6 separate regions of the Homo sapiens genome follow, and all the other regions are linked to region 1. Evidence: promoter capture Hi-C in 16 types of primary human blood cells and fetal thymus (Javierre and others, 2016). All regions are on one chromosome and are shown on one strand. The core of a region is centred on a gene start or on the middle of the fragment in contact, and the rest is flanking DNA. Distances in the headings are between cores, read along the strand shown.

Region 1 (4,515 bases), core at 20-2,519:
GAGGTGCTTCAACAGGAACGCCACCTGTCACCAGCTTGACACTCGCAAGTATGTGGTTTACAGAGTGCCTGGCACACATTGTTCCTTAATTGCCAGGACCAGTGAGGTAGCCACGATAATCATGCCCATTTTATAGACCCGTGGGGCTGAAGTGGCAGGTGCACGGTGACACGGCCAGTTTCCTTGGACTCGCCCGCCATCCCTCTTCCCAGCCTGTGGCCTCTGAACCACACCAGTCCCCTCTTCCCTTTGCCATTCACCCACAACAAGGGGCCTCTGTGTGGCCTGGGCAGGCAAGCCCAGATGGCCATGTTGATGCCCCCAGCGCCCAAGGCCCCACTTCAAAACCGACTACGAAGGATTCCAGGTTACCCGGGGCCTTTTGAATTTGGAGGGAAAACCATGGAGTTGTTTGCCTGAACTGCTTTGCCATGGAGGGACTAAAGCCCCCACAATATCTCCATCAGCCTCCCACCACCTCACCCTACTCTAAAGTCATTTCAAATGACTGAACCAAAAGTGTCTCGGGAAAGACCTCATCACCACCCAAATATCCCATCCAGGTGAAAGCCTGCCAGCAGAAGTCGGTTTCAAGTCCGTAAATCCATCCCACCAGACTCTTACGCACGTATAATCCGGAGCCCGCGGGAGGTGGGTGGGGTGCGGGGGATGGGGAGTCCCCAGTCCCACACCCACCCGAGGCCTAGGCATTGTTCCTTCGTCTCTGTCCCTCTAGGAAGCGTCTGATCCAGCCCTCCCGTGCCCTCTCCCCGTTACTCCAAAACTTAGAAATCCCCGGGTGCGCCCAAGTCCCATCCCGGCTTTTCTTTTCCCAGAGATCGGGCGGTCTTCCACTCCCTCCCCACAAAGAGTTCCATTCTCCCTGCCGCTCCGGGTCTCACCGTCCAGGGAGTTTCACTTCCTGCTATCTTCCAGATAAGGGCGCGGGGAGCGCTCCCCGGCACAAATGGGGAATTCCTCTCACTCCCGCGCGCAACAGATCGCCCAAGACCCAGGGGATCGGAAGGTCCCAGCCTCTGAGACCCCCGCTTCCCGCTTCCCGCCGCCTCCAACTCCATCCATCCCCCTCTACAGTTCCCTCCGGCGTTCCGCAGCGTCAGAGGCCCCGTGCCCCGTACCTGTGCACCAGGTGCTAAGCAGAAGCCACACGAAGACGACCGCGTCCCGGCCTGCGGCGGCCGGGTGGGAGCCCAGCCCTCTGGAGAGCCCGCCGGCCAACAGCGCCATCGCGGCCGTCTGGGCGCGTCTGGCCCGCGCGTCCCTTCCAAAGTACCTTAGGGGGCGCGGCGCGCACCAAGGCCAGGAGGGGTGCACGCTCCTCCCCTTCCCACTTCCGTTCCTTGTCCCTACTCCAAGTCCGTCCTGTTGCATTCTGGAAGTTTTAATGAGCGTAAACGACGTGGACAAAGGGCATGCTTTCAGATATGGGGGAGAAAGGTGCTTGACCCGCCGCGGTCCTCCGAGCCACACTCCACCCGCTGCGCGCTCCGGTGAATGGTTCGGCCCAGGTACACAAGGGTGGGAGCCGAGGGCTGGGCTTAGGGGTGAGCGGCGGGGAGGGGTTCCTCTGCCTCCCTCCCCGGAAGTGGGCTGACCCAGGTGCGCTCCGTCCCCCAGGGCCCGAACCAAGTGACTGGCCCGCTGGGAGGGCGCCTGCGGACCACAGGTCCCTTCCGGCCCCCATCTGCTCCGGCCAAACCAAGCGCACCGAGATCCATGCAACCGAGACCCACTTGGAGCGATTCACCTGTTGAGATAGGGCGGGTCCCGCCGCGCACCTGTTCCCTCCCTGCCCAAACCCCTCTCCCCGGCTGGCGATGGACCCGCCTAGGTGCGCCCTGCCGGGAGGAGCGAGTCTAAGCAAAGTCCTGGCTGGGAGAGGCTTGTTGGTGGCGCCTGACTTCTCCACTTCCACTGGGGTTCCTCCGGACCGGGTGGAGGGGGGGCGCTTCGGGCCTCCTGTGTCTCCCAGTTAGATGACCTGAGGAACCCTCTAAAGTCCCCGGAAGGGAAGCTCTGCCCCCTCAGGGATGCCCAAGGGGAATCAGGGCCAGGAAAAGTTGGAATTCCACTTCGGAAGTTTTCGCCACCTCCCCCACCCGTTCCCAACTTGTGGTTCGGCCCCTGGGCATCCCTAGCCCCCGGGTCAGCCCTCCGGAAATTCTGGCTCTTAAAGGGGCCGAGCGAAGGCGCGGGGCTTGGGACCGGTTTCCGCTTAGGAATTCCCGGAACGAGCCACCTGCGACCGAGGGCGGGGGCGCGGCGCGGCGATCAGCCTGCGCAGCGCTGGGCGTGACTCTGCTGTCTCCAGGTGGCGGCGAGGGAAAGCGCATCCTGGGGGAACCCTGGGCGCTTCCTCGCGTTAGACTCCCCCAGGTTGCCAACTGGCCAGTGGCTGGTTTCGGTACCCAGGCGTGCTTTGTTCTACTGGCCCTGTTAAAACTCAAGCCAGATCACGTCCACCTGCTCACAGCCCTCCTGTGGCTCCTCCTCACTCTCAGCAGAAACTGACCTTCCCCCTCTTATCTCACCTCCTCCCACTCTCTCTGGCTTACTCAGCTTCGGACACCCTGGCCTCCTCGCTGTTTCCAACTATACTTCTCACAGTCCTCAGAGCCATCGCCCGTGCTACTCCCTCTGCCAGAACACCCTTCCCGCAGATGTCCACATGATCTTCCTCCTCCTGTAGGACACCATTGCAGTGACACCTTCCCTGGCCACTTTTTATAAAATTTCAACCCGTTCACGTCCCTTCATCGTTTAAAAAAATATTTTTATGATAAAATATGCAAACTATAATATTTATCGCTTTAACCACTTCAAGTGTAAAATTCAGTGGCATTAAGTATATTCACAATGTCGTGTACCAATCACCACTCTTTATCCCCGAAACTGTTTCATCATCCCCAACATAAACTCTGTGACCATTAAACAGTAACTCCCCATTCCCTGCTACCTGTGCCCCTAGTAATTTCTATTCTACTTTGCTTACCAAATTGCCCATTCTAGGTGCCTCATATAAGTGGAATCGTCTAACATTTGTCCTGTGTCTAGTTTATTTCACAAAGAATAATGTTTTCAAGGTCCATCCATGTTGTAGTATGTCGAAGCCATGTAGCATGCAGTAAGATCAAAATTTCTTTTTACAGCGGACTAGTGTACCATTGTATGTATATGCTACGTTTTATTTATCCATTCATTTGTGGATGGACCTAGGTTGTTTCTACCTTTTGACTATTGTAAATAGTGCAGCTGTGAACACTGGTGTACAAATATCTGCTTTCATTTCTTTTGAATATATGCCTAAGAATGGAATTGCTGGGTGACTTGGTAGTTCTATTTTTAACCTTTTGAGGAACTGCCAAACTGTTTTCCCCAATGACTGCACTATTGTACATTCCCACCAGCAATGCACGGAGGATTCCAATTTCTCCACATCCCCACCAAAACTTATTATCCATTTTCTTGATTATGGCCATCCTGGTTAGTGTGAAGTGGCATCTCATTGTGGTTGTAATCTGCATTTCCCCAATGACTAACGATGTTGAGCATATTTCCACGAATTTATTGTCCATTAGTATATCTTCTTTGGAGAAGTGTCTATTCAAGTACTTTGCCCATTTTTGAATTGGGTTGTTTGTTTTTTTGTTGTCAAGTTGTAGGAGTTCTATATATATTTTGAATATTAATCCCTTGTTAGATATATGATCTGCAAATATTTTCTTCCATTCTCCAGGTTTTTTCACTTTCTTGATAGTGTCCTTTGGTGCACAAAAGTTCTTAATTTGATGAAGTTCAATTTACCTACTATTTTTTCTTCCTTGTACTTTTGGTATCCTATTTATGCAGTTGTTGCCAAGTCCAATGTGATGAAGATTTTCAACAATATTTTCTTCTAAGAGTTTTATAGTTTTAACTCTTAAATTGAGTCTTTGAGCCACTTTATTTTATTTCATTTTATTTTTTGAGACTGAGTCTCACTTTGTCGCCCAGGTTGGAGTGCAGTGGTGTGATCTCCGCTTACTGCAACCTCCACCTGCCGGGTTCAACCGATTCTCATGCCTCAGCCTCCCGAGTATTTGGGATTACAGGTGCATGCCACCACACTGGGTTAATTTTTGTATTTTTAGAAGAGATGGGGTTTCACCATGTTGGCCAGGCTGGTCTCGAACTCCTGACCTCAAGTAATCTACCTGCCTTGGCTTCCCAAAGTGCTCACATAGGTGTGAGCCACTGCACCCGGCCTGGGCCATTTTAATTTTAGTATGTGGTAGAAGGGTCCAACTTCATTTTTTTGCATATGGATATTCAGTTTTCCCTCTACCATTTGTTGAAAACACTGTCCTTTTCCCATTAAGTGGTCTTGGCTTCCTTGTCAAAAATCAATTAATCATATATGTGAGGGTTTGTTTCTCGGTTCTGTATTCTATTTCATTGATCTATACGCCTATCCTTATGCAAGTACCATATGTTTTAATTACTATAGCTCTGTAG
Region 2 (4,108 bases), core at 1,194-3,693, 160 kb before region 1:
ACAACACTGCGCCTGCCCACCAATTTGACTCTTCCACTGGGGGAACCCACCATGGGAGACAAAGCACAGGGTCCAAGCAGACCAGGAAGTTGAAGAGGGTCACGGCAGCCAGTCTCTTGGCTCTTCAGCACCTCCAGGTCCCCACTTGGGGCCAGAGAGCATGATCTGCACAAAGTGCCAGTGGCAGAAGGTGGTGACCGCCATGGGGGTGAAGAAGAGCTCCAAGCACAGCTCCAGCTGCAGCACCACGGCCAGCTGCTCTTGGGGGACGTTCTCATAGCAGATACGGAGCCCTCTGGCATATCTCATCATCTTCTTGGTAAAAACTAGACAATGAGCCAGGCATGGTGGCTCATGCCTCCCAGCACTTTGGGAGGCTGAGGCAGGCAGATCACTTTAGGTCAGGAGTTCGAGACCAACCTGGCTAACATGGTGAAACCCCGACTCTACTAAAAATACAAAAATTAGTAGGGAGTGGTGGCACATGCCTGTAGTCTCAGCTACTCGGGAGGCTGAGGTAGGAGAATCACTTGAACCTGGGAAGCAGAGGTTGCAGTGAGCCAAGATAGCACCACTGCACTCCAGCCTGGACGACACAGCAAGACTCCATCTCAAGAAAAAAAAAAAAGAAAGAGTAAGCTTAAATCTCCTCGAAGTGATCATTGAAAGGTAAACATTTAAAATAAAACTTGTGGCTGGGAGCAGTGGCTCACACCTGTAATCCCAACACTTTGGGAAGCCAAGACAGGAGGATTGCTTGAGTCAAGGAGTTCAAGACCAGCCTGGGCAACACAGTGAGAGCCTTTCTCTACAAAACGTTAAGAAATTAGCTGGGCATGGCGGTGTGCACCTGTAGTCCTCGTTACTCTGGAGGCTGAGGCAGGAGGATCACTTGAGCCCAGGGGCTTCAAGGTTACAGTGAACCATGGTGGCACCACTGCAAACCAGCCTGGGCGACAGAACAAGACCCTGTCTCAAAAAAAAAAAAGTTTAAAAATGAATAAAATAATGAGGCCTTAACCTATGACAGATAGCATATCACCTGCTGGCCCATCTGTACATCTCATTCTGCATTCGAGAACTTCAGAAGTAGAGGACCAGATGAATGGGAGTGGCCCTGCCGCCACGGGGCTGAGCTCCACCGCTTTTGTCCTGCTCCTCCTCGCCAGGCCCTGACCATCTCTCCACTGACTTGTCCTGGCCCCTTTTCCATTTCTGTGGCCTCTTCCCTCTCCTCCTTGGAGAGTAGCCTGTCCTCTGCTCCCTGCATGCTCTCCTTCCATCCCGTCTCTTCCTGGGGTTATGATCCCAGCAACCTCTTCCCTGAGCCCAGGCGAGGTCAGGTCCCTTGCCTTTTCCTGCAGGTAGATGGGTGGGTTTTCAAAGATGTCTGGTTTCAGAAGCCGGTGGCATCTTGTCTAACTGGACCACCTTTTCCTTTTCCACCAACGGCAGGCTTTTATACCTGGAAGAGTCATGTGGTCAAAAAGAGGAAAGTCAGTGGTTGAGCTCTTTCTAAAGCAGCTTGACCTTCTGGGTCTCCCACCAGATTTTGTCCCCAACAGACTTATTTCACCCAGAGTCCAATTTTTTTTTTTTTGAGGCAGAGTCTTGCTCTATCACCCAGGCTGGAGTTTAGTGGTGCGATCTCAGCTCACTGCAACCTCTGCCTCCCTAGTTCAAGTGATTCTCCTACCCCAGCCTTCCAAGTAGTGGGATTACAGGTGTGCAACACCACGCCCGACTAATTTTTGTATTTTTTGTAGACAGGGTTTCACCATGTTGGCCAGGCTAGTCTCGAACTCCGAACCTCAAGTGATCCGCCTGCCTTGCCTCCCAAAGTGCTGGGATTACAGGCGTGAGCCACTGTGCTCAGCCCAGAATCCAAATTTGAACAGTTTTTTCAGGCTTCCTCCTCCCCCTACATTCCAAGAGGTTGAATTCTGTTTCCTTCCCATGGGCAATTATCCCACACGACTACACGCACATCCATCTCTCACTTCCGCTTTTTCTTTCTTTCTTTCTTATTTTGTTGTTGTTGTTTTGAGACAGGGTCCCACTCTGTTGCCCAGGCTAGAGTTCAGTGGTGCAATCGCGGCCCACTGCAGCCTTCACCTTTCGGGCTCAAGTGATCCTCACACCTCAGCCTCCCGAGAAGCTGGGCCACAGGTGCACGCCACTGCATCTGGCTAATTTTTTGTATTTTTGGCAGAGACGGGGTTTCACCATGTTACCAAGAGTTGTCGAACTCTTGAGCTCAGGCAGTCCACCCGCTTTGGCCTCCCAAAGTGCTAGGATTACAAGTGTGAGCCACCATGCCCAGCCCCAAGTTTGTTTTTAGAAAAAAAAACCTAGCATTGTCCCTTGCCTATAACAGACACTCAAATCCTTGTGGAATGTAAGGATGGAGGTTGGATGTGCCTGTGAATACTTGCTAGCTGATGACACAAGCAAAGAATGTGTCAGAACCTGCGCCTTTTGTCTCCTGTCCTTTATCTGCATTCTGTTGCCCGGGTTACTGGTATGGGGACATCTTTGGTGCTGAGGTCTAGGTTCCAATGAGTCAAAGGGAGAATTCAAACTAAGTTGTCTGGCAGCACCCCAAGACTGTGCTGACCTCACACACAGCTGTATCACGGGAGTGGGCAGTGCATCATCTCAAATCCAACTCAACTGAGCAATGGTTCGGGCTGAGTCACACCATGTATGAATCGGGGGGCGGGGGTATGTGGCTCCTCTCCAACAAGCCACACTGTCTGCTTCCCTGTCACAAAACACATGGAGCCGTTACTCTGTGTGAGGTACTGTTCTAGGAGCTGGAGACAAGAGTGAACAGGATGAACAGAAAACAAGTAGACAAACCAACAAGGCAATTTTACAGGAAGAAAGGAAGTAGGCCAGGCAAGGTGGCTCACGTCTGTGATCTCAACGCTTTGGGAGGCCCAGGCAGGAGGACTGCTTGAGGCCAGGAGTTCAAAACCAGCCTGGTCAACATAGCGATACCCCGTCTCTACAAAAAGTGAGATAAAAAGTCAGGCATGGTGGCTCACACCTATAATCCCAGCTACTTAGGAGGCTGAGGCAGGAGGAGGATTGCTTAAGGCTGGGTGTTTGAGACCAGCCTGGGCAACATAGTGAGATCCCCTGTCTCTACAAAAAAGGATAAAAATAAAAAATTAGCCAGGCATGGTGGTGCACACCTGTAGTCCTAGATACTCAGGAGGCTGAGGCGGGAGGATCACTTGAGCCTAGGAGTTGGAAATTAAAATGAACTATGATGGCACCACTCCAATCCAGTGGTCCTGTCTGGGGGAAAAAAAAGGGAAAGAAAATAAATCGGCTAGGCGTGGTGGGGTTCATGCCTGTAACCCCAGCACTTTGGGAAGCTGAGGCGGGCACATCACTTGAGGTCAGGAGTTTGAGACCAGCCTGGCCAACATGGTGAAACTCTGTCTCTACTAAAAATACAAAAATTAGCCAGGTATGGTGGCGGGCACTGGTAATCCCAGCTACTCAGGAGACTGGGGCAGGAGAATCACCTTAACCTGGGAGGCAGAGATTGCAGTCAGCCGAGATCATGCCACTGCACTCCAGCCTGGGCGACAGAGGAAGACTCTGCCTCAAAAAAAAAAAAAAAAAAGGACCAAAAATCAAACAACAACAACAACAACAACAAAAAGCAAGCAGGGAAATTGAGAGAGAGAGAGAGAGAGATGGGCAGGGCCTGTCAGGAAAGGCCTGGGACATTTGAATGGGTGAGAAGGAGCCACTATCTGAAGAGCGTTCCAGGTAGGGGCACCAGCGGGAACTTAGCCTGAACCATGGCTCGGTTGAGTTGGACTTGAGATGTCGCACCGCCCACTCCCATGATGCAGCTGTACGTGAGGTCAACACAGCCTTGGGATGCTGCAAAACAGCTTAGTCTGAATTCTCCTTTTTTTTTTTTTTTTGAGACAGAGTCTCACTCTGTTGCCCAGGCTGGAGTGCAGAGGCGATCTCGGCTCACTGCAACCTCCATTCTCCTGGGTTCACGCCATTCTCCTGACTCAGCCTCCTGAGTAGCTGGGATTACAGGCACTCACCACCACACCTGGCTAATTTTTGTATT
Region 3 (4,242 bases), core at 1,085-3,584, 140 kb after region 1:
TGTTCTTCCCTGACACGAACGCATACGGCCTCCTGACAAACTATATAATTCATACTGGTGAGGCCTATTGTCTCTCTCTCCTCTGGAATCTCAGCTCCACCACGATGGAGAGATCTTGACCGTTCCACCCACTGCTGTTTCCCCAGCACTGAGCCCAGGGTCTGGCACATAGTAGGTGCTCAGGAAGTTTTTAATGAGTGGATGAATGAACGCCATTCTTTTTTTTTTTTTTTTTTTTGAGACGGAATTTCGCTCTTGTTGCCCAGGCTGGAGTGCAATGGCGTTATCTCAGCTCACTGCAATCTCCGCCTCCCGGGTTCAGGTGATTCTCCTGCCTCGGCCTCCCGAGTAGCTGGGATTACAGGCATGCACTACCACGCCTGGCTAATTTTGTATTTTTAGTAGAGACGGGGTTTCTCCATGTTGGCCAGGCTGGTCTCGAACTCCCTACCTCAGGTGATCTGCCCGCCTCAGCCTCCTAAAGTGCAATTTTTTTGTATTTTTAGTAGAGATGGGGTTTCTCCATGTTGGCCAGGCTGGTCTCGAACTCCTGACCTCAGGTGATCCACTCGCCTCGGCCTCCCAAAGTGCTGGAATTACAGGCGTGAGCCTCCATGCCCGGACTAATGAACACCATTGTTGAGAGTTACTATATATCCCAGGCCCCGCCACAGATGAATCAGACATGCCACCTCCTTAATTTGGCCACAGCTTTTTGGGAGCACACAGTAGGCCCACAGACAGAAAGGGAAGGGCTCAGAACCTGACAGCCTGGGTTCCAATCCTAGCACAGCCACTTTCTCCTTATGCGACATTAGGCAAGCAAGTCTGCCTTCCCGGGCCTCAGTTTCCCCATCTGTACCACTGGGATAATAGCAGTCCATCTGCTGTGCTGCCCTTTGGAGTCAATGGGCTCGTTGTGTGGGACGCTGACAGCATGACTAATTCTGAAAGCTGGTTCCCTTCCTGGAAGGGGGTGGAGTGGGAGGGGTGTGGCTGTGTGTTTTCCAATAGCCAACAATGGAACTCTTGTAGGCAGGGGCCCTCGGGCCTAGAAAACACATCCACCCCTGTGGGTTCTAGACAAAAGTTTCAGGTCTCAGAGTGGAGGTTTACCAGGGCATTTACACTCTTTGAAGATTGTTAAGAAGAAATACTGGTTTCGGGGGACATAGGGACACAGGGGTGGATTCCCATTTTGCCCTCTCTCCCTGCAAGAAGTAGCTGCCAGAGATGGGGGGTAGGGGCAGGATCTCTCCCACCTACAACTCCTGAGTAGGATTAGATAGGCTTAAGAAAACCTCTGGGCTGCACTGATTGGCTCAGTGGGGTTTAATCAAAGTGAAGCATTGGAATTTTTGTTGAGTACTTGGGGTAAGAAAAGATTCGGGTTTTGGACAATGGGGAATACACATTTAATGACTGGAAAATTGGCAGTTATTTTGCCATCACAAGAAAAGCCAGCCTGAGGACAAAGCTAATGCTATAGAGAAACACAGACCAAGAGAAATGCTGAAAAACTGAGTTAGCACCCTGATCAAACCATGCCTGATCTCCCTCTGGAATTTTCAGTTATGTAATTAGTCTAAAAATCATAAAACACAGTCTGTGACTGGTTTGAGTTACCTTTTATGAGGCTTTCTGTAACCAAAACAGCCAAAGTGGTATATAGGGAACTTCTGTGGACCCAGAATCTCTACACTTTCACTAGGCTATCACATGATTTTTACTTAGTTTGAGCCAATGTATTTCTTTTAGCTTCAATCGGTTCAAGAGTCTCTAGATGCCAATGAGTGCTTACCTCATCAGGTCGGGGCTCTCTCTGCAGACAAACCTGGGTCCCATGAACCTACATCTTTGAAATGAACACAATGGGACTGCTGGACTTGTTTCTCCTTCCCAATTTCCACCTTGAAAAGGCGCAATGAGCTGGAGGAGCCACAGGACTTGGTAAAAGCAGAAGCGCAAGTGCCTGGAAACTCAACACTCTTCCGGTCAAAGGAGGCGACGTGTGAGTGCATGGTTGCTTGATAAATGCCAGGGGAGAGTGGGTGGCACCCAAAGATGCCCCTGAGGGTCTCACATCTCTGCCCCGGCCCACAGGAGGACGGGGAGCAGCACACGGCGTGGGTGGAGGCCTGGCAGTGGCAGAATTGCTCACAGCGCTCCCCAGTCCAGAAGGCCTCCCCAGCCGGGTGGTGGTACCTGCCCCCCATGGAGCAGCTGCACTGGATTGGGGGCACGCAGTCCATGCCACTGAGCACAAAGCCTGGGTCACACTGGCAGCCATCCTGGCATGGTGTCAGGCAGCTGTCGGGCAGGGCAGGCTCGGCACAAGAGCTAGGACAGGAGGAGCCGCAGAGCTCGTAATTGCTGCGGGGAGGACAGGCCAGCTCTGGAAGAAAACAGGTAGGAGTTAAATAATTGAGCAAGCATTACTATTCTGGAGCATTTCCAACCAGAATAGGACCAAGGGAGCGGAGAGAGGGTTGTGGGGGCCAAGGGTAAGTCATAAAGGCAAAGGAGGGGAGGTGGAGGCATCATCAGGATGTAGCATAATGGTGGCGGCGTGGTCACGGCGGTGATAACGGTGGCGGCGTGGTCACGGCGGTGATAACGGTGGCGGCGTGGTCACGGCGGTGATAACGGTGGCGGCGTGGTCACGGCGGTGATTAACGGTGGCGGCGTGGTCACGGTGGTGATAATGCTGGTGGCGTGATCATGGTGGTGATAATGGTGGTGGTGGTGGTCGTGGTGATAGTAATGATGATGATGGTGGTAGGGCTGGTGATGTTGTTGGTGATGTGATGGTGTTGATGGTGATGGTAATGATAGCGGTGATGGTGACAGTGATGATAGTGGTGAGGGTGGTGGTGGTGGTGATGACAATAGTTGTGGTTGTGGTAACAATGATGGTGGTGGTAGTGATAATGGTGATGGTGATTATAGTAGTGATGGTGATGCTGATGCTGGTGGTGATGGTGATGCTGGTGGTGATGGTTATGATGGTGATGATGATGTTGATGGTGGTGGTGGTGGTGATGATGATGGTGATGGTGGTGATGGTGATGATGGTGGTGATGGTAGTGGTGATGATGGCTGTGGCTGTGGTAACAATGATGATGGTGATGGTGGTGATGGTTGTGGTTGTGGTAACAATGATGGTGGTGGTAGTGATGATGGTAATGCTTGTGGTGATGGTGGTGGTGGTGATGATGGTAATGCTGGTGGTGGTGGTGGTGGTGAGGCTGGTGGTGGTGGTGATGGTGACGCTGGTGGTGGTGGTGATGGTGACGGTAATGATGATAGTGACTGTGATGATGACAAAGGTGACGAAGATAGTGATGAAGAAACAACCTTGGTCATGCTGGGTCATGTTCAGGTTAGTTCGTTACTTCAGCATAACCCAGACCATCCTGACTGATGCAATAGCACTCAGTGTCATCTGTTATTGTTATTGCAGAGTTTTAAGCAGGTAGGTTCTTCGCGGGAACAGTTAGCCAGAAAGGCATGCAGTGGGTCACTTTGGGTGGTGTTGACCTAGGAGGACATCCTGGAAGTGGTATTGGGCCAGCTGGGGAGGTCAGGCTGAGAAAGACCCTCCCTGGGAATACCCACTTACTGCAGGCCAAGAGGTGTCTCCAGGGCTGCATGGGAACGCTGCGCTGCTGGCTTTCCTGGGCGTAGCTCCCCAGTATGGCACACAGAGTCTCTCTTGAGCCCCCCGTGGCACAGAGGTCATGGATGCAGTTCTCCACATGCACCTGGGGATCCACGTCCTTACTGCAGGCCCTGTAGGGCCCATCTTGGGTGCCCAGCAAGCCACAGAAGGCCTGGTATAGGGCTGCCTTGTCTGGTGGGCACAGAGGGGCTGGGCCCCCATTAAGCTGTTGGCATCAGAGAGCCATGTGCTATCAGAGCCGCTGAAGTCATCCTGGGTATCCACGCTGAAGTCCCCGCCCAGGCCACAGAGGGTGTTGGTGTAGGTCTCAGGCACTGCCACTCAGAGGGCATGGGATTCGTGAAAGGTCATGGAGAGGCCGGGTGCCACCTGGACTGTGATGGCCAAGGGCGTGAAGAAGGCCTGGAGTGTGCCCCCCAGCCAGAGTCAGGGGCAGGCCAGCCTGGGAGCCGTTCACCTGGAACACAGACACCCAGGCTACGTCGGGCAACCACGTCCAGACACCTGCCCCTCCTGGGCCCCTGCTCCTGCCACTGCTGAGATCCACTCTGCACATAGCA
Region 4 (4,519 bases), core at 1,715-4,214, 160 kb after region 1:
CACAATGTGCCATCCGCACAATTGAATATAGGTGTCCCGGATTGGGCGCCCATCCCTGGCATGTTTTGGGGGCTCCCTGACCCCCATGATGGGCCGACCCCCTCACAACAGCAAGACCCTGCCCCCAGCTCACCTGGTAGGAGGGGCCGCCGTGCGCCGAGCCGCACTCCTTCGGGTGCCGGCACCTGGCCCCTGCCCACAGGTGCGCGTTATCGTTGGCGCAGCCCTCGGAGCAGGCAGGGCGGCCGCGGGGACGCAGAGCTGCACCCGGCGCGGGTCCAAGCGTTGCTGGTAGCTGCTGTGCTTAGGACACGTGGCGGCTATGCAGGGAGGAGAAAAAGCGCGGGTAAGGAAACATGATCTGCAGGCCACATTTGCCCAACTCCCTGACCGAGTGCTTAAAATCTCGGCTCTGTCGTGGTGCTTAACCTCTCCAGGACTCCGTACCCATCTCTCCGAAAAGAGTACTGACCTCAAACTGACTTTGAGGGTTAAGCAAGTTAAAATAAATTAAGTGGTTGGGACAGCGCCTGGCACCCTGGGAACCTTGGATAAATGCGACCTATTGTTATTCCAGAAATAGCCCCTAGGTGGCCCACCTTTCTCACTCCATGAACACTGTCTTACCTCCCCCCCACTCCACCCCGCTCCCCGCCTTCCCTATTCCAAACCCTTTGAGGGTTCCCTACGGCCCAGGTGTCAGAGATTCACATTTGGATCTAACATAGGTGGGTTAGAACCTGGTTTTAGGGGTGTCTTGATCCCCAGGATGGTATCGGACAGGCTTTTGTTGCCTGTTGGTTGAGCAAGAAAGCGGCACCTTCCACCCCCACCCCGTAGAACATGACCTGCCCCGATTGCGCCCCTAATGTTGGAACCAGCTAGGAACCCTTAATGGGCAAGCATTAGGGGCCAGCAAAGCTTTGGTGCAAGGGAGGAAAGCCGGATGTTTTAGGAACGATCAGAAAAATCTGAACATGGACTAGGCTTTTCATGATATCTGGGAATTACTGCTTATTTTGTTAGGTGTGAGCAAATCACAGCAGGTTTTTTTGTTTGTTTGTTTTGTCTTTGTTTTTTGAGACGGAGTTTCGCTCTTGTTGCCCAGGCTGGAGTGCAATGGCGCAATCTTAGCTCACCGCAACTTCCGCCTCCCAGGTTCAAGTGATCCTCCTGCCTCAGCCTCCCGAGTAGCTGGGATTACAGGCATGCAGCACCACGCCGGCTAATTTTGTATTTTTAGTAGAGACGGGGTTTCTCCATGTTGGTCAGGCTGGTCTCAAACTCCCTACCTCAGGTGATCCGCCTGCCTCGACCTCCCAAAGTGCTGGGATTACAGGTGTGAGCGTGAGCCACGCGCCCGGCCACAGCAGGTTTTTTTCTTTTTAAAAGTCCTTATCTATTAAAAAAAATAATGCTGGAGTATTTACAGGTTTACACGTTGTCTGGGATTTGCTTTACACAAAATAAATCAATAAGGGAGGGGTGGAGGTGGACACAGGTCGGCCACAACTTGGCTGTTGTTGAGGCTGCCTTCTGGGTACAGGGGCATTCAATAGGCTATTCTCTCTACTTTTATGTTCAAATTTTCCATAATAGTTAAATAAGAAAGAAAGAATTAGATGATATGGCTAGTAATAAAACTTCTTTTGTCTCTGGAGAAAGAAAGTCTTAGTTCAAGTCTCAACTCTGTCTGTTGTGATTAGCAGTAGACAAATGGCTTTACCTCTGTGAGCCTCTGTTTTCCCAAATGTAAAGTGGGAATAATAACAGTCATTGCCTCTCACTTGCAGGGTGTTTCTGAGACAGTGGCGGCAAGAGGTACACAGAGCCTTCGGCCCCATGCCTGGGACATTGTAGATGTTCAATAAGTATTAGCAGTTGTTGGGATTATTATTGTGGCATCTCAGGTCAGGCATTCTGAGGGTGGAAAAGGACATCCCCTTGACAGGGGGCCAGGGATCCAGTCAACCCAGGGTGGTATTCAAAATACATAGCGGGCTGGGTGCCATGGCTCATACCTGTAATCCCAGCACTTTGGGAGGCCGAGGTGGGCGGATCACCTGAGGTCAGGAGTTCGAGACCAGCCTGGCCAACATGGTGAAACCCCATCTCTACTAAAAATACAAAAAATCATCTGGGCGTGATGGCGGGCACCTGTAATCCCAGCTACTTGGGAGGCTGAGGCAGAAGAATAGTTTGAACCCGAGAGGAGGAGGTTGCAGTGAGCTAAGAACAAGTCACTGCACTCCAGCGTGGGTGACAGAGTGAGACTCTGTCTCAAAAAAAACAAAAAACAAAAAAAAACATAACAGTCGGTAGCATACAGGCCCCCTACCAATCCACATGCGTCCAGCTGGAGCCTAGGAGGAGAACCTGGAAGGCCTTCCTGTGCTGGAATTGGGAATATGGGAAGTGGTTGGGGCACTCAGGCAGCCCAGGAGTACAGAAGGATGTCAGTCTGTGTGTGGCCATACAGAGCATGCAGATGAATTCCTGCCCTGCTCAACCATGACTCACCACAGAAGGAAGAATTCCTCTAGTGCCTGATGGTGATGTTGGCGCCCTGGCAGATGGCGGCATATGTCTGCAGGGCCAGGCAGAGGATGTGGTCATCATCCCCAGCAAGACACAAATCATCGACACAGCTGGAAACATATGGGTCTGGGTTGATCTCCCAGTGGCAGTGGCTGAAGGGTCCTGGGGGTCCTGCAGGAGCCAGCACTGCCTCCTGGCTGACACAATCTGCCCCTGGTCATTGCAGACTGAGACTGGACAGGCAGCCCCACAGCTGTCCCTACAAGCCTTGCTCTGCTTCTCCAAGGTAATGTCAGCCTTAGCGTCCTCACTGGGGTTGCAGTTGAAGTTGCCTCAGAGCCCACAGGTGTGACCCTTGTAGAGGTGGGGCAGGGTGAGGGTAAGGCTGTAGGTGAGATCTGTGCTGAGCCAGAGGCCAAAGTCTGACTGCAGCAGGGAGAAGAGGCCATTCCAGTGGACGGCAAGGCTGCCCCCATTCAGGCTTACGGGGAGGGCTGTTGTCTCACCATTCACCTAAGGAGCAGGCAGAATCAAAGGAAGGCTCGGGAGCATAGGACCACAGTTGGGTCAGTGTTGCTTGGCACATAGTAGGTGTTCAAATACGTGAAAAATGTTGATTTTTTTTGATATAGGGTCTCACTCTGACCCTCAGGCTGGATGCAGTGGCACAATCATGGCACACTGCAGCCATGAACTCCTGTGTTCATGCGATCTTCCCACCTCAGCCTCTTAAGTAGCTGGGACTATAAGCTGGGACTATAAGCGTGCGCCAACACACCCACCTAATTCTTTTTTAGATACGGGGTCTCGCTATATTGCCTGCTTGAGACAGGCTGGTCTTGAACTCCTGGGCTCAAGGGATCCACCTGCCTTGGCCTCCCAAAGTGTTAGGATTACAGATGTAAGCCACCGTACCAATACATGTAAAACATTTTTAGATGAAGGAACAAGGACATAACTATAATAGTGACCATCTCTTGTTTTATCCTGTTCTGCATTCATTTCTCCTTTCTCTGGATTTCCCTGAGAACTCACCCCTCCAAAATCAATCCATGTGGTTCACAGAAAGTCAATCCTATCCTAACTTCCAGCACATGACCCAGGCCCAGCCAATCAGCTAGTCCATCAGGGATTCAGGGGTGGTCACATGACTCAAGCTGGGCCAGTGAGGGACACTTTTCCTCCAGTGACATTTGCTAACCTGGCAGCTGTCCTTGTCCCTACAAGGTGGGATGGGATGGTGCCTGTCTGAAAATGAAGGAAAGGAGAGCCCAGAAATTGAGACAGATTTGAGACATATTGTTCAAGCACCTGGGTCCAGCTATGCCTGAATCCATACACCTGTAGATTTTTTTTTTCAATTGTGTAAATCAGTAATTCTTTTTTTTCTTAAGCTGGTCTGAGAGTGTTTCTGTTATATTAGCTGAATGCATCTGATGGATATAGTCAAAAATGGGCATATAATCAGAAAATAGAGGTAAAATGTAGAAATAATGGAGACAGAATAAGTTTTTCCCTTGGGCCTATGGGTTTGGGTGAAGGGTTGGGGTTCCTAGAAACGACACGTCCCAAAGCTGGTGCTTATCTGAGCCATGCCTGGGCTGTCCCTCCGCAGGTGGACCTGGGTCCCATTAACCTGGACAGACACCTCCAAGATGAGCATGAGGGGGCTGCTGGATCTGTTCTCCTTTCACAGCTGTATCCTGAAGAATGGCAGTGAGCCGGAAGAGCCACAGGATTCGGCAAAGACGGACACACAGGTACCTGAGAACTCAACAGTTTTCCCATCAAAGGTGATGATGTGTGAGTGCCCGGCTGCTTGGCAGGTGCCAGGGGAGAATGGGTGGCACCCAAAGATGCCCCTTAGGGTCCCACATCTCTGCCCTGGCCCACAGGAGGAGGGGGAGCAGCACACAGCATGGGTGGAAGCCTCGCAGTGGCAGAATTGCTCACAGTGCTCCCTAGCCCAGAATGGCTCCCC
Region 5 (4,760 bases), core at 1,243-3,742, 190 kb before region 1:
AAGCATTTTTTCAAGTACTTATGAGCCATTTGTATATCTTCTTTCGTGGAATGTCTGTTTAAATATTTTGCTCATTTAAAAAATTTTAGGCTGGGCATGGTGGCTCACACCTGTAATCCTAGCATTTTTGGAGGCTGAAGTGGGTGGATTGCTTGAGGTCAGGAGTTTCAGACCAGCCTGGCCAACATAGTGAAACCTCATCTCTACTAAAAATACAAAATTTAGCTGGGCGTGGTGGCGGGCGCCTGTAATCCCAGCTACTAGGGAGGCTGAGGCAGGAGGATCGCTTGAACCCAGGAGGCAGAGGTTGCAGTGAGCCAAGATCATACTACTGCACTCCAGCCTGGGCAACAGAGTGAAACTCTGTCTCAAAAAAAAAAAAAAAAAAAAGAAAAATTGGATTATTTTCATATAGTTGAGTTCTGAGAGTTCTTTATTATATTCTTGGTACTAGTCATTTGTCAGATGTATATATTACCAATATTTTCTGCCATTCTGTGACTTTTCTCTTCTTTTAATTTTTTTTTTTTTTGAGACAGAGTTTCACTTTGTTGCCCAGGCTGGAGTGCAGTGGCTCCATCACAGCTCATTGCAGCCTTGACCTCCCAGGCTCAGGTGACCTTTCCGCCTCAGCCCTCCAAGTAGCTGGGACTGCAGGCACCTGCCACCATGCCTGACTAATTTTTCTATTTTTTGTACTGATGAGGTTTTGCCATTTTGTCCAAGCTGGCATCGACCTCCTGAGCTCAAGCAGTCTGCCCACCTCGGCCTCCCAAAGTGCTGGGATTACAGGCATGAGCCACTGTGCCTGGTCTTCATTTTCTTAATTGTCTCTTGAAAAGCAAAAAAGTGTTACATTTTGACAAGGTCTAATTTATCTGGTTTTTCTTCTATGGTTTGTGCTTTTATGTCCTAAGAAGCTTTTACCTCCTTATCCAATTATTCCAGATTTTCCTTTCCCTGTTGAATTGCCGCGGCACCTGTACTAAAAACCCATTGGTTGTATGTGTGTGTGGTACTATTTCTGGACGCTCTATTCTTCTGAGAGACTCTGTGTCTTGCCTTTCATCATTTGCACACGGTATTTTTAAAATTTATTTATTTTTATTATTTTTTAAAATTTTTATTTTTAGATGGAGTCTTGCTCTGTCTCCCAGGCTACAGTGTTGTGGCGTGATCTCAGCTCACTGAACCCTCCTCCTCCTGGGTTCCAGCAATTCTTCTGTCTCAGCCTCCTGAGTAGCTGGGATTACAGATGCTTGCCACCACCCCCGGCTAATTTTTGTATTTGTATTAGAGACAGGGTTTCGCCATGTTGGCCAGGCAAGTCTTCAACTCCTGACCTCAAGTGATCCACGTGCCCCGGCCTCCCGAAGTGCTGGGATTACAGGCACGAACCACTGTGCCCGGCCTGCACACAGTCTTGATTACTGTGGTTTCATAATAAGTCTTGAAATAGAGTAAGTCCTCCAACTTCCTTCTTCTTTTCTAAATTTGCTGTGGCTATTCTGGGTCATTTGCATGTTCATATAAATATTAAAATCAATTTCTACAGAAAAGCCTGCTGGAATTTTGAATGGGCTCACACTGAATCCATAGATCAATTTGGGATCATTGACACTGGACATCTCTCTCCATTTATTTAGGTCTTTAATTCCTCTCAGCAATGCTTTCTAGTTGTCAGCATAGAGGTTTTGCATGATTCTAAATATTTTGGAGGCAGCTGTAAATTTAATTTTTTTAGAGTTTATTTTCTCATTGTTGGTTGCTCTCATAGCATCTTTTACTATTCCTTCCTATGTCCCACGTCTCAATTTATTATAATGTGTTCATTAGCATGAGGATTTGCATTAAGATGGATGTGAAGTCTACCTCCCCTTATGAGACTGTCCACAAAGCAGGGAACACAGCTGCTTTGCTCACCATTGCATCCTCAGGACCTGGCGTGCAGCCTGGAACATGTTAGGCCCTTAGTAACTATTTCCTGGATGACAGTGGAGGATAGATGGATGAGAGTGACTTCAGAATGGAGATAAGTCCATTTCAAAAACTCAGAGGACGCTTGTCCTCAGATGCCTCATTTATCTTTTTCTGGGACCTGTTAAGACATCCTGGACGTGTAATCACTTGAGAGCTGTCTTGTGGTTTAAGGGACTTGCAGCAAAAGCCACAGGACCTTTTTCCTCATGGTCAGCACTGATGATCCAGGCTATATACCTTTTTTTTTTTTTTTGAGACGGAGTCTTGCTCTGTCATCCAGGCTGGAGCATAGTGGCGTGATCTTGGCTCATTGCAACCTCTGCCTCCTGGGTTTAATTGATTTTCCCGTCTCAGCCTCTTGAGTAGCTGGGATTACAGGTGTCTGTCACCATGCCCTGCTAATTTTTGTATTTTTAGTAGAGACGGGGTTTCACCATGTTGGCCAGGCTGGTCTTGAACTCCTGACCTCAGGTGAACCGCCTGCCTCGGCCTCCCAAAATGCTGGGATTACAGGCGTCAGCCTCTGCGCCTGGACCCATCTGTATTTTTCAACCATGATATTTCTAATGCTTGGCACAGATCCTGGCACATCCTGGGGGGTGGATATATATTTGTTAAATGAATGAATGAATGAAACAATTGCCAGCCTCCCAAATGCTGGGATTACAGGTGTGAGCCACTGCACCCGGCCTTAAGACTCCATTTTTGAGCAGTGGGAAGTCACTTAGGGCCATAAGAGGGGAATGATGTGATGTGATATATGATTCTAGAAGATCAAGCCTGCTACTGTGTGAAGAATGCTCCCTAGAAGGACAGAACTGGAAGCAGAGGGATCCGCTAGGAGGGTGTTGCAGTCGCCAGGGGTTGAGGGGATTGAGGATGGCATGGATAAGGGAGAATGTGCACCCGGGGCAGAGAGGATCACTTAGGATTTGAGATATGTAACTTTGTTTTATTATTATTATTTCTAAATGTTTTTATTATTTTTATTTTTGGTAGAGATGGGGTCTTGTTATGTTGCCCAGGCTGGTCTCAAACTCCTGGCCTCAAGCCATACTCTCACCTTGGCTTCCCAAAGTGCTGGGATTACAGGTGTGAACCACCACGTCTGGGCTGATTATTATTATTTTTAGAGGTGGGGGTCTCGCTCTGTCACTTCAGGCTGGAGTGCAGTGGTGTGATCATAGCTCACTCCAGCCTCGACCTCCTGGGCTCCAGCGGTCCTCCCACCTCGGCCTCCCAAGTAGCTGAGACTACGGGCTTGGCCACCACACTTGGCTAATTTGCTATTTTTTGTAGAGACAGGGTCTTGCTGTGTTTCTCAGGCTGGTCTCAAACACCTGGCCTCAAGCGATTCTCCTGCTTTGGCCTCCCTAAGTGCTGGGATTACAGGTGTGGGCCATTGCACCCAGTGTGCAATTTTAAATAAATGACAATTAATAAGGAAGTACAGGATGCCAGAGAGAAATGGAACTCTCCTAGGGATGAAGAGGGAAGGAGAATCTAGACCAGCACGTGCTGATGGACTTTGAGACGTAATGGCCCCTGTGCCAGTGCAGTTCCCCTGAGTTCATTTGCGTATCACCTTTTTTGAGCCCTGCAGAGGCCTCACCAGAGGAGCTCACCCACTGTGAAGGTAACAGTTTATGCCCACCCCCCTCCGTGCATCTTCTCTTTTAGTTGTCTATTATGCAGCCTCCCCTGTCACTCCAGTCGTGGGGTCCTTCACTTCCACAGTCCCTGCAGAACCCATCCCCGGGCTGGTACATTGCTGAAGAAGAAAATTAAAAGGAGCGTCTCAAGGCTAGCTTCTTGGGAGAACTCTGCAGACTCTGTCTCTGTGGCCTTGGTGGTGGGCCTCTGTGGTTGTTCCCACCCACTGCCGGTAGCCATACCCCAACCTCTCTCTGCAGAGACCTCTCCTTCCTCCACTCTCCGTCCACCTGAGTCCTGTTTATTAGACTTCACTCCTGGCCAATCACACCAGCTGTGGTGGCCAAATGATGGTCCCCCCAAAAGAGACCCATATCCTAATCCCTGGAACCACGGCCAAAAGGGACTTTGCATTGGGATTAAGAAGCTTGAGATGGGGAGGTCATCTTGGACTATCTGAGATGGCCCTAAACATAATCACAAAAAGGAGGAGGCAGAACTGGGCGCATTGGCTCACACCTGTGTTCCCAGCACTTTGGGAGGCCGAGGCAGGCAGATCACTTGAGGCCAGGAGTTCGAGACCAGCCTGGCCAATATGGCAAAACCCCGTCTCATCTCTATTAAAAATCCAAAAACTTAGCCAGGCATGGTGGTGTGCATCTGTAATCCTGTAATCCCAGCTACTCCAGAGGCTGAGGCAGGAGAATCACTTGAATACGGGAAGTGGAGGCTGCAGTGAGCAGAGATCGTGCCACTGCACTCTAGCCTGGCAACAGAGTGAGACTCCGTCTCAAAAAAAAAAAAAGAATCTTTAGATGGGGAGATAATCTTGGACTATCTGAGATGGTCCTAAATGTAATCACAAAAAGAAAGAGGTAGAGGGAGAAATCAGACAGAAGGGGAGAAGATGCTGTGATCCTGGAGGACCGGAGTGATGTAGCTGCAAGCTAGCGCCCACCAGAAGCTGGAAGAGGCAAAGAATGGATTTTCTCAAGAGCCTCCGGAGAAATGGAATCCTGCTGAACACCTGTGTTCCATCCCAGCCGGATCTGGCTGGAGTCACCCCGAAAAGCTGTGGCAAGGGAGTTTCTGTCGAGGAGTTCCCCAAACCATCCCAAGAGGGGGCC
Region 6 (4,700 bases), core at 1,557-4,056, 180 kb after region 1:
CTCAGAGTTAGGCACTGGGGACTCCATCTTCAAAGCAGTGTCCCAAAGGGGTGCTCCAGACCCTCAAACCCCAGACAGCCCTTTACCTGGTCAAACCACATGGGACAGAGGGTCACCTGTGTTCCTGGACCAAACTGAGGATTAGGCTGCTATTTCTCATGGCCCAGTGATGAGATGCAGATAAACTGGGAGAACAGGGAGGTTTTTTTTGTTTTTGTTTTTGTTTTTGTTTTTGTTTTTTGAGACGGAGTCTCGCCCTATCGCCCAGGCTGGAGTGCAATGGCACTGTCTCGGCTCACGGCAACCTCTGCCTCCCGGGTTCAAGCAATTCTCCTGCCTCAGCCTCCCAAGTAGTTGGGATTACCAACACCCACCACCATGCCTGGCTAATTTTTGTATTATTAGTAGAGACGGGGTTTCTCCATGTTGGTCAGGCTTGTCTCGAATTCCTGACCTCAGGTGATCCGCCTACCTCGGCCTCCCAAAGTGCTGGGATTACAGGCATGAGCCACCGCACCCAGCGAAAAGGGAGTTTTTATTTCTGTAACTGGTTATAGGGTGAAAGCCTGGAAATTGTCCCCAGACCAACTCAAAATTACAAAGTTTTCCAGAGCTTATATACCTTCTAAGCTATATGCCTGTGTGTAAGTGTAGTTTCTTCAGACCCCCAATTAAACTTGTTTAATCCTAAAAGGGTCCTGTTAAGAATTCATTCTTTATCTTGTCATGCTTTAAAGCCCAGGAAAGGCCTGAGCAAAACTCTTGGTAGGCTTTTGTTACATTCCAGCTTTTGTATAGGGCACTGGCTCTATCAGCTTTTAATATTTGACTTAGCCACTCAGTCGGTGCTGAAACAGTTGTTATGGAGGCCTGCGTTAGTGAGACCTGGCCTGCCACACCTGGGCCCAGTCCTCATTCGAAGGCTCCTTTTTGCACCACCAGTCCAAGGAGTGTCTGGGTTAAGGCATCCCATCTTTTTCTCCAGAACACCGCCAGCATCTGGACACATGCACTTCCCTAGCGGTCCAGGGACCCCCCCACCACCCCGCCAGGGAGAAAGTGTCCGAACCTGCTCAGCAGAGAGAGGCTGGGAATGAGAGCTCAGTGCCATATCCCGAGCTGTTCCAGCCCCAGGCCCCAGCGCCAGCCCTGCCCCTCGGAGGTGGACCTTGGACGGGATATGCAGCCCCTCTGTAGGACAGCAAACCCCACAGACCCTCCTTCCCAGCTTGCATGGCGATGAAACAAGTGTTTCCCAAAGGGCGGCACATGGGCTGCTGGCGGGAAACCCCGGGAGAGTATAGGATGGCAGTGAAGAAGGAATTGTTATTATTTCACTAGCATTTGTTTATTTAATACATTTGTTTTGATTTATATTGAAAAACATATATCTGCCACCGCCACATCAAACCCACAGTTTCTTTTTTTTTTTTTTTTTTTTTTTGAGACAGAGTCTCGCTCTGTCGCCCAGGCTGGAGTACAGTGGCGCAAACTCGGCTCACTGCAAGCTCCACCTCCCGGCTTCACGCCATTCTCCTGTCTCAGCCTCCTGAGTAGCTGGGACTACAGGCACCCGCCACCATGCCTGGCTAATTTTTTTGTATTTTTAGTAGAGATGGGGTTTCACCGTGTTAGCCAGGATGGTCTCAATCTCCTGACCTCGTGATCCACCCGCCTCGGCCTCCCAAAGTGCTGGGATTGCAGGTATGAGCCACTGCACCCGGCCTCAAACCCACAGTTTCATAAACATTATTGTTAAAGTCAAGGCTGGCAGGGCACAGTGGCTCATGCCTGTAATCCTAGCACTTTGGGAGGCCAAGGCAGGTGGATCGCTTGAGCCCAGGAGTCTGAGACCAGCCTGGGCAGCATAGCGAGACCCCATCACTATCAAAAATACAAAAATTAGCCAGTCTCATAACCCGGTCTCAAAATAAATAAATCAATAAAAATAATACATAAATAAAGTCAAGGCTAAGCTTAAAAAAAAAAGACACACACACACACACACAAAAGGAAAAGAGATAATTTGAATAAAACAATACAAGTAGTACCAGCGGTATTTGTTTGCCCCTAAGCTCCATAAAGTTGGTTTGTCCTGTCCCCTATATTTCTCCAATTCCTAGAACAGTGTCTGGCACATAATAGGTGCTTAATAAATATTATTTGAATGAATGAATAGCAAAAATTAAGACAGCCACTTTCAAACATCTGAATTTGGGGAAATACTGAAGTAACATGTATAAAACTCTCAGTACAGTACCTGTCACATAGGAAGTGCTCAAAAATATGCATGGATATGTTTATTAATATAAATTATTATTATTATTTAGAAGTGAAACAGGCATTGTGGCCAAATGCTAATTAGTGAAGTATTAAATTAAAGATTTGCCCAAAGCTGACTATCACCTTCTTAGAATGAACTTCTGTAATGTAAGAACAAATGTGAAAGTGTTCTAAAAAGTTATTACTGTCATAATTTTATTATCCACAATTTTAGCAGGGAAATATTTCAGGTTGAACACCTTACTGAGGGATCATTTCTCTGCTTTGTCAGCTGTTAATTTGCTCCGATAGTCCATAAGCTCCTAGGGCAGTTTTAAGATGTGGCCCCAAATTTTTTGACCTGCCTTCCACCACCAAAGGGTGGGGTCTCCATCTCCTCCTCTAGGGTCTGGACAGGTTTGTGATTGCTTCAGCTGACAGAGTGGAGCAGAAATGAGGCTGGGGTGTAAAGGCCAGTGTCTGCTGGAATGCTCACTCTGGAGCCATGAGCCACCACGTGAGAAGTTCAAATGTCCTTGGGTAGCCATATTGGAAGGAAGCCCAAGTTAGCCAGACAATGAGTCCACAGTACCAGCTGAGCTCAGCTTTTGAGTGATCCCAGCCCGGATACTAGACTTGTGAGTAAAGAGCCTCCTTTTGGGATACCGAGGCAGGAGGGTCACTTGAGCCCAGGAGTTCAAGACCAGCCTGGGCAACCAGTCCCATCTCTACAAAAAAAAAATAAAATTAGTTGGGTATGGTGGCACACACCCGTAGTCCCAGTTACTTGGGAAGCTAAGTTGGGAGGATCGATTGAGCCCAGGTGGTAGAAGTTTTAGTGAGCCATGATCACACCACTGCACTCCAGCCTGGGCGACAGAGTGGGACCCTGTTTCAAAACAAACAAACAAAAGAAGCCTCCCTATTCCAGTCCCTGTTCCTTTAGGCTTTCTAGCTAAGGACCTGGTCATCAGGGAGCAGAGACAAGCTGTGCCTGCTGTTCCCTGTCCAACTTTCTGAGCTGCAGAATCCATGAGCATTTACTGTACCCACTAGCTTTGGGTGGTATGTCATGCAGCAAGAGCCAAAACAGCTCCTCGCTTCATAACTGCAGGATTGAAACAGTGTTACTTTTTATGCAGAAACTAAAGTCCATCTCCCTACTTATGCTGCTATCTGAATGTTCACAATAATTATTTCTGAATATAAAATGAATAGCCTTCACCATCATTGCTAATCATGGCTGTGATTTTATGTATGAAATAACTGTTGTGGCAGAGTAGCTGTACATTTCTCCTTCAACCCAGCTGGGAGAATGCCAACTTATAACCACATATGGAGCTATCTGTTCCAACTAACATCCAGAAAGCTTTTCTATATTTGAAAAGGACTATGTAGATATAAATGCTAAATAGGAATGCAAAACTTGGCTTGGGTTCCTGATGTAGTTGCACTAATTCTGTAAGATGGGTCAAATATTTCTGATTCTGAGCGGCACCACAATGACATGGAAGTAATTTTCATATTCAGCTTTTCTGAAGACTGAGACCCTGGCAGGAACTGAAAGCAACCTTGTGACTGTTATTATTCTTTTTAAATATCTTCCTAGCTCTTTGGGGTGAGTGGCAAGGTTGCTGGGAGCAGGAGGAGAAACTGAGGCTCACTGACCCCTGGCATACAAGGGAAACCAGTGAATGGCTGTTGAGTGAATCACAATCTCCCCAGCCCCTCCACTCCTCCAACAAAGCAACAGTGCAGACAGAACTCAGAATGGCTGTCAGAGGCGTTTGAACCAGAGCAACTCCATCTTAAATAGGACCTGGGTAAAGTAAGGCGGAGACCTGCTGGCCCGCATTCCCGGTAAATTAAGGCATTCTAAGTCAGAGGATGAGAGAGGAGGTCGGCACAAGATACAGGTCATAAAGACCTTTCTGATAAAACAGACTGCAGTAAAGAAGTCGGGAAAACCCACCAAAACCAAGATGGCCATGAAAGTGACCTCTGATTGTCCTCACTGCTACACCCCCACCAGCGCTATGACAATTTACAAATGCCGTGGCAATGTTGGGAAGTTATCCTATATGGTCTAAAAAGGGGAGGCGTCAATAATCCACCCCTTGTTTAGCATAACTAAATAATAAATCAAGACTAAATCAAGAAATAACCATAACAATGGGCAACCAGCAACCCTCGGGGCTGCTCTGTCTATGGAGTAGCCATTCTTTTATTCCTTTACTTTCTTAATCAACTTGCTTTCACTTTACTCTGTGGACTTGCCATGAATTCTTTCTTGCACGAGATCCAAGAACCCCTGGGGTCTGGATCAGGACCCCTTTCCAATAACATGGCCACCTGGTTTTTATTTTCCCAGCAGGATGCCTGTTGGCTTTTAATGACCAAATTTCCATCAGATCCCCTAGAATAAGGCCACATCCCCC

Evidence for each region. The method cuts DNA at HindIII sites, captures the fragments that hold promoters and counts their contacts. A CHiCAGO score of 5 or more calls a contact.
Region 2: a contact is called between the fragment with the promoter of LINC01531 here and the fragment with the promoter of LSR in region 1, in 2 of 17 cell types (monocytes and neutrophils). The highest score is 11.2, in monocytes.
Region 3: the fragment with the promoter of HPN-AS1 here is called in contact with the fragment with the promoter of LSR in region 1 in 4 of 17 cell types (naive CD8 T cells, naive B cells, total B cells and 1 more); the score reaches 6.4 in naive CD8 T cells.
Region 4: a contact is called between a fragment that was not itself captured here and the fragment with the promoter of LSR in region 1, in 1 of 17 cell types (naive B cells). The highest score is 5.5, in naive B cells.
Region 5: a fragment that was not itself captured here is called in contact with the fragment with the promoter of LSR in region 1 in 2 of 17 cell types (total B cells and monocytes); the score reaches 6.3 in total B cells.
Region 6: a contact is called between a fragment that was not itself captured here and the fragment with the promoter of LSR in region 1, in 4 of 17 cell types (total B cells, M2 macrophages, M0 macrophages and 1 more). The highest score is 8.5, in total B cells.

Annotation. Positions count from the first base shown.
Region 1 is chr19:35,245,756-35,250,270 of GRCh38, reverse strand. It overlaps LSR (lipolysis stimulated lipoprotein receptor), which reads right to left and starts at 1,269. Exons shown (of 10, transcript NM_205834.4): 1 at 1,140-1,269. The coding sequence starts at 1,248. RefSeq lists silencers at 1,106-1,175, 1,586-1,665 and enhancers at 778-1,579, 1,580-2,382, 2,516-2,685. The HindIII fragment of the contact is 9,039 bases long and covers 1-4,515 here.
Region 2 is chr19:35,403,942-35,408,049 of GRCh38, reverse strand. It overlaps LINC01531 (long intergenic non-protein coding RNA 1531), which reads right to left and starts at 2,443. Exons shown (of 5, transcript NR_040046.1): 1 at 2,369-2,443; 2 at 1-1,465. The HindIII fragment of the contact is 14,783 bases long and covers 642-4,108 here.
Region 3 is chr19:35,104,396-35,108,637 of GRCh38, reverse strand. It overlaps HPN-AS1 (HPN antisense RNA 1), which reads left to right and starts at 2,334. Exons shown (of 4, transcript NR_024562.1): 1 at 2,334-2,409. It overlaps LOC124904701 (hepatitis A virus cellular receptor 1-like), which reads right to left. Exons shown (of 3, transcript XR_007067238.1): 2 at 1,802-4,139. The HindIII fragment of the contact is 15,680 bases long and covers 1-4,242 here.
Region 4 is chr19:35,086,735-35,091,253 of GRCh38, reverse strand. HPN-AS1 (HPN antisense RNA 1) reads left to right here. Exons shown (of 4, transcript NR_024562.1): 3 at 4,154-4,298. LOC124904701 (hepatitis A virus cellular receptor 1-like) reads right to left here and starts at 306. Exons shown (of 3, transcript XR_007067238.1): 1 at 134-306. It also overlaps the pseudogene LOC100420797. RefSeq lists an enhancer at 195-732. The HindIII fragment of the contact is 4,082 bases long and covers 924-4,519 here.
Region 5 is chr19:35,438,906-35,443,665 of GRCh38, reverse strand. No RefSeq gene overlaps it. Among named protein-coding and RNA genes, the nearest start is that of FFAR2, 7.0 kb to the left of the region's middle. RefSeq lists an enhancer at 1,175-1,384. The HindIII fragment of the contact is 3,140 bases long and covers 923-4,062 here.
Region 6 is chr19:35,068,790-35,073,489 of GRCh38, reverse strand. All of the region lies in intron 3 of HPN-AS1 (HPN antisense RNA 1), which reads left to right. Among named protein-coding and RNA genes, the nearest start is that of HPN, 29 kb to the right of the region's middle. RefSeq lists a silencer at 2,659-2,859 and an enhancer at 4,244-4,700. The HindIII fragment of the contact is 1,655 bases long and covers 1,979-3,633 here.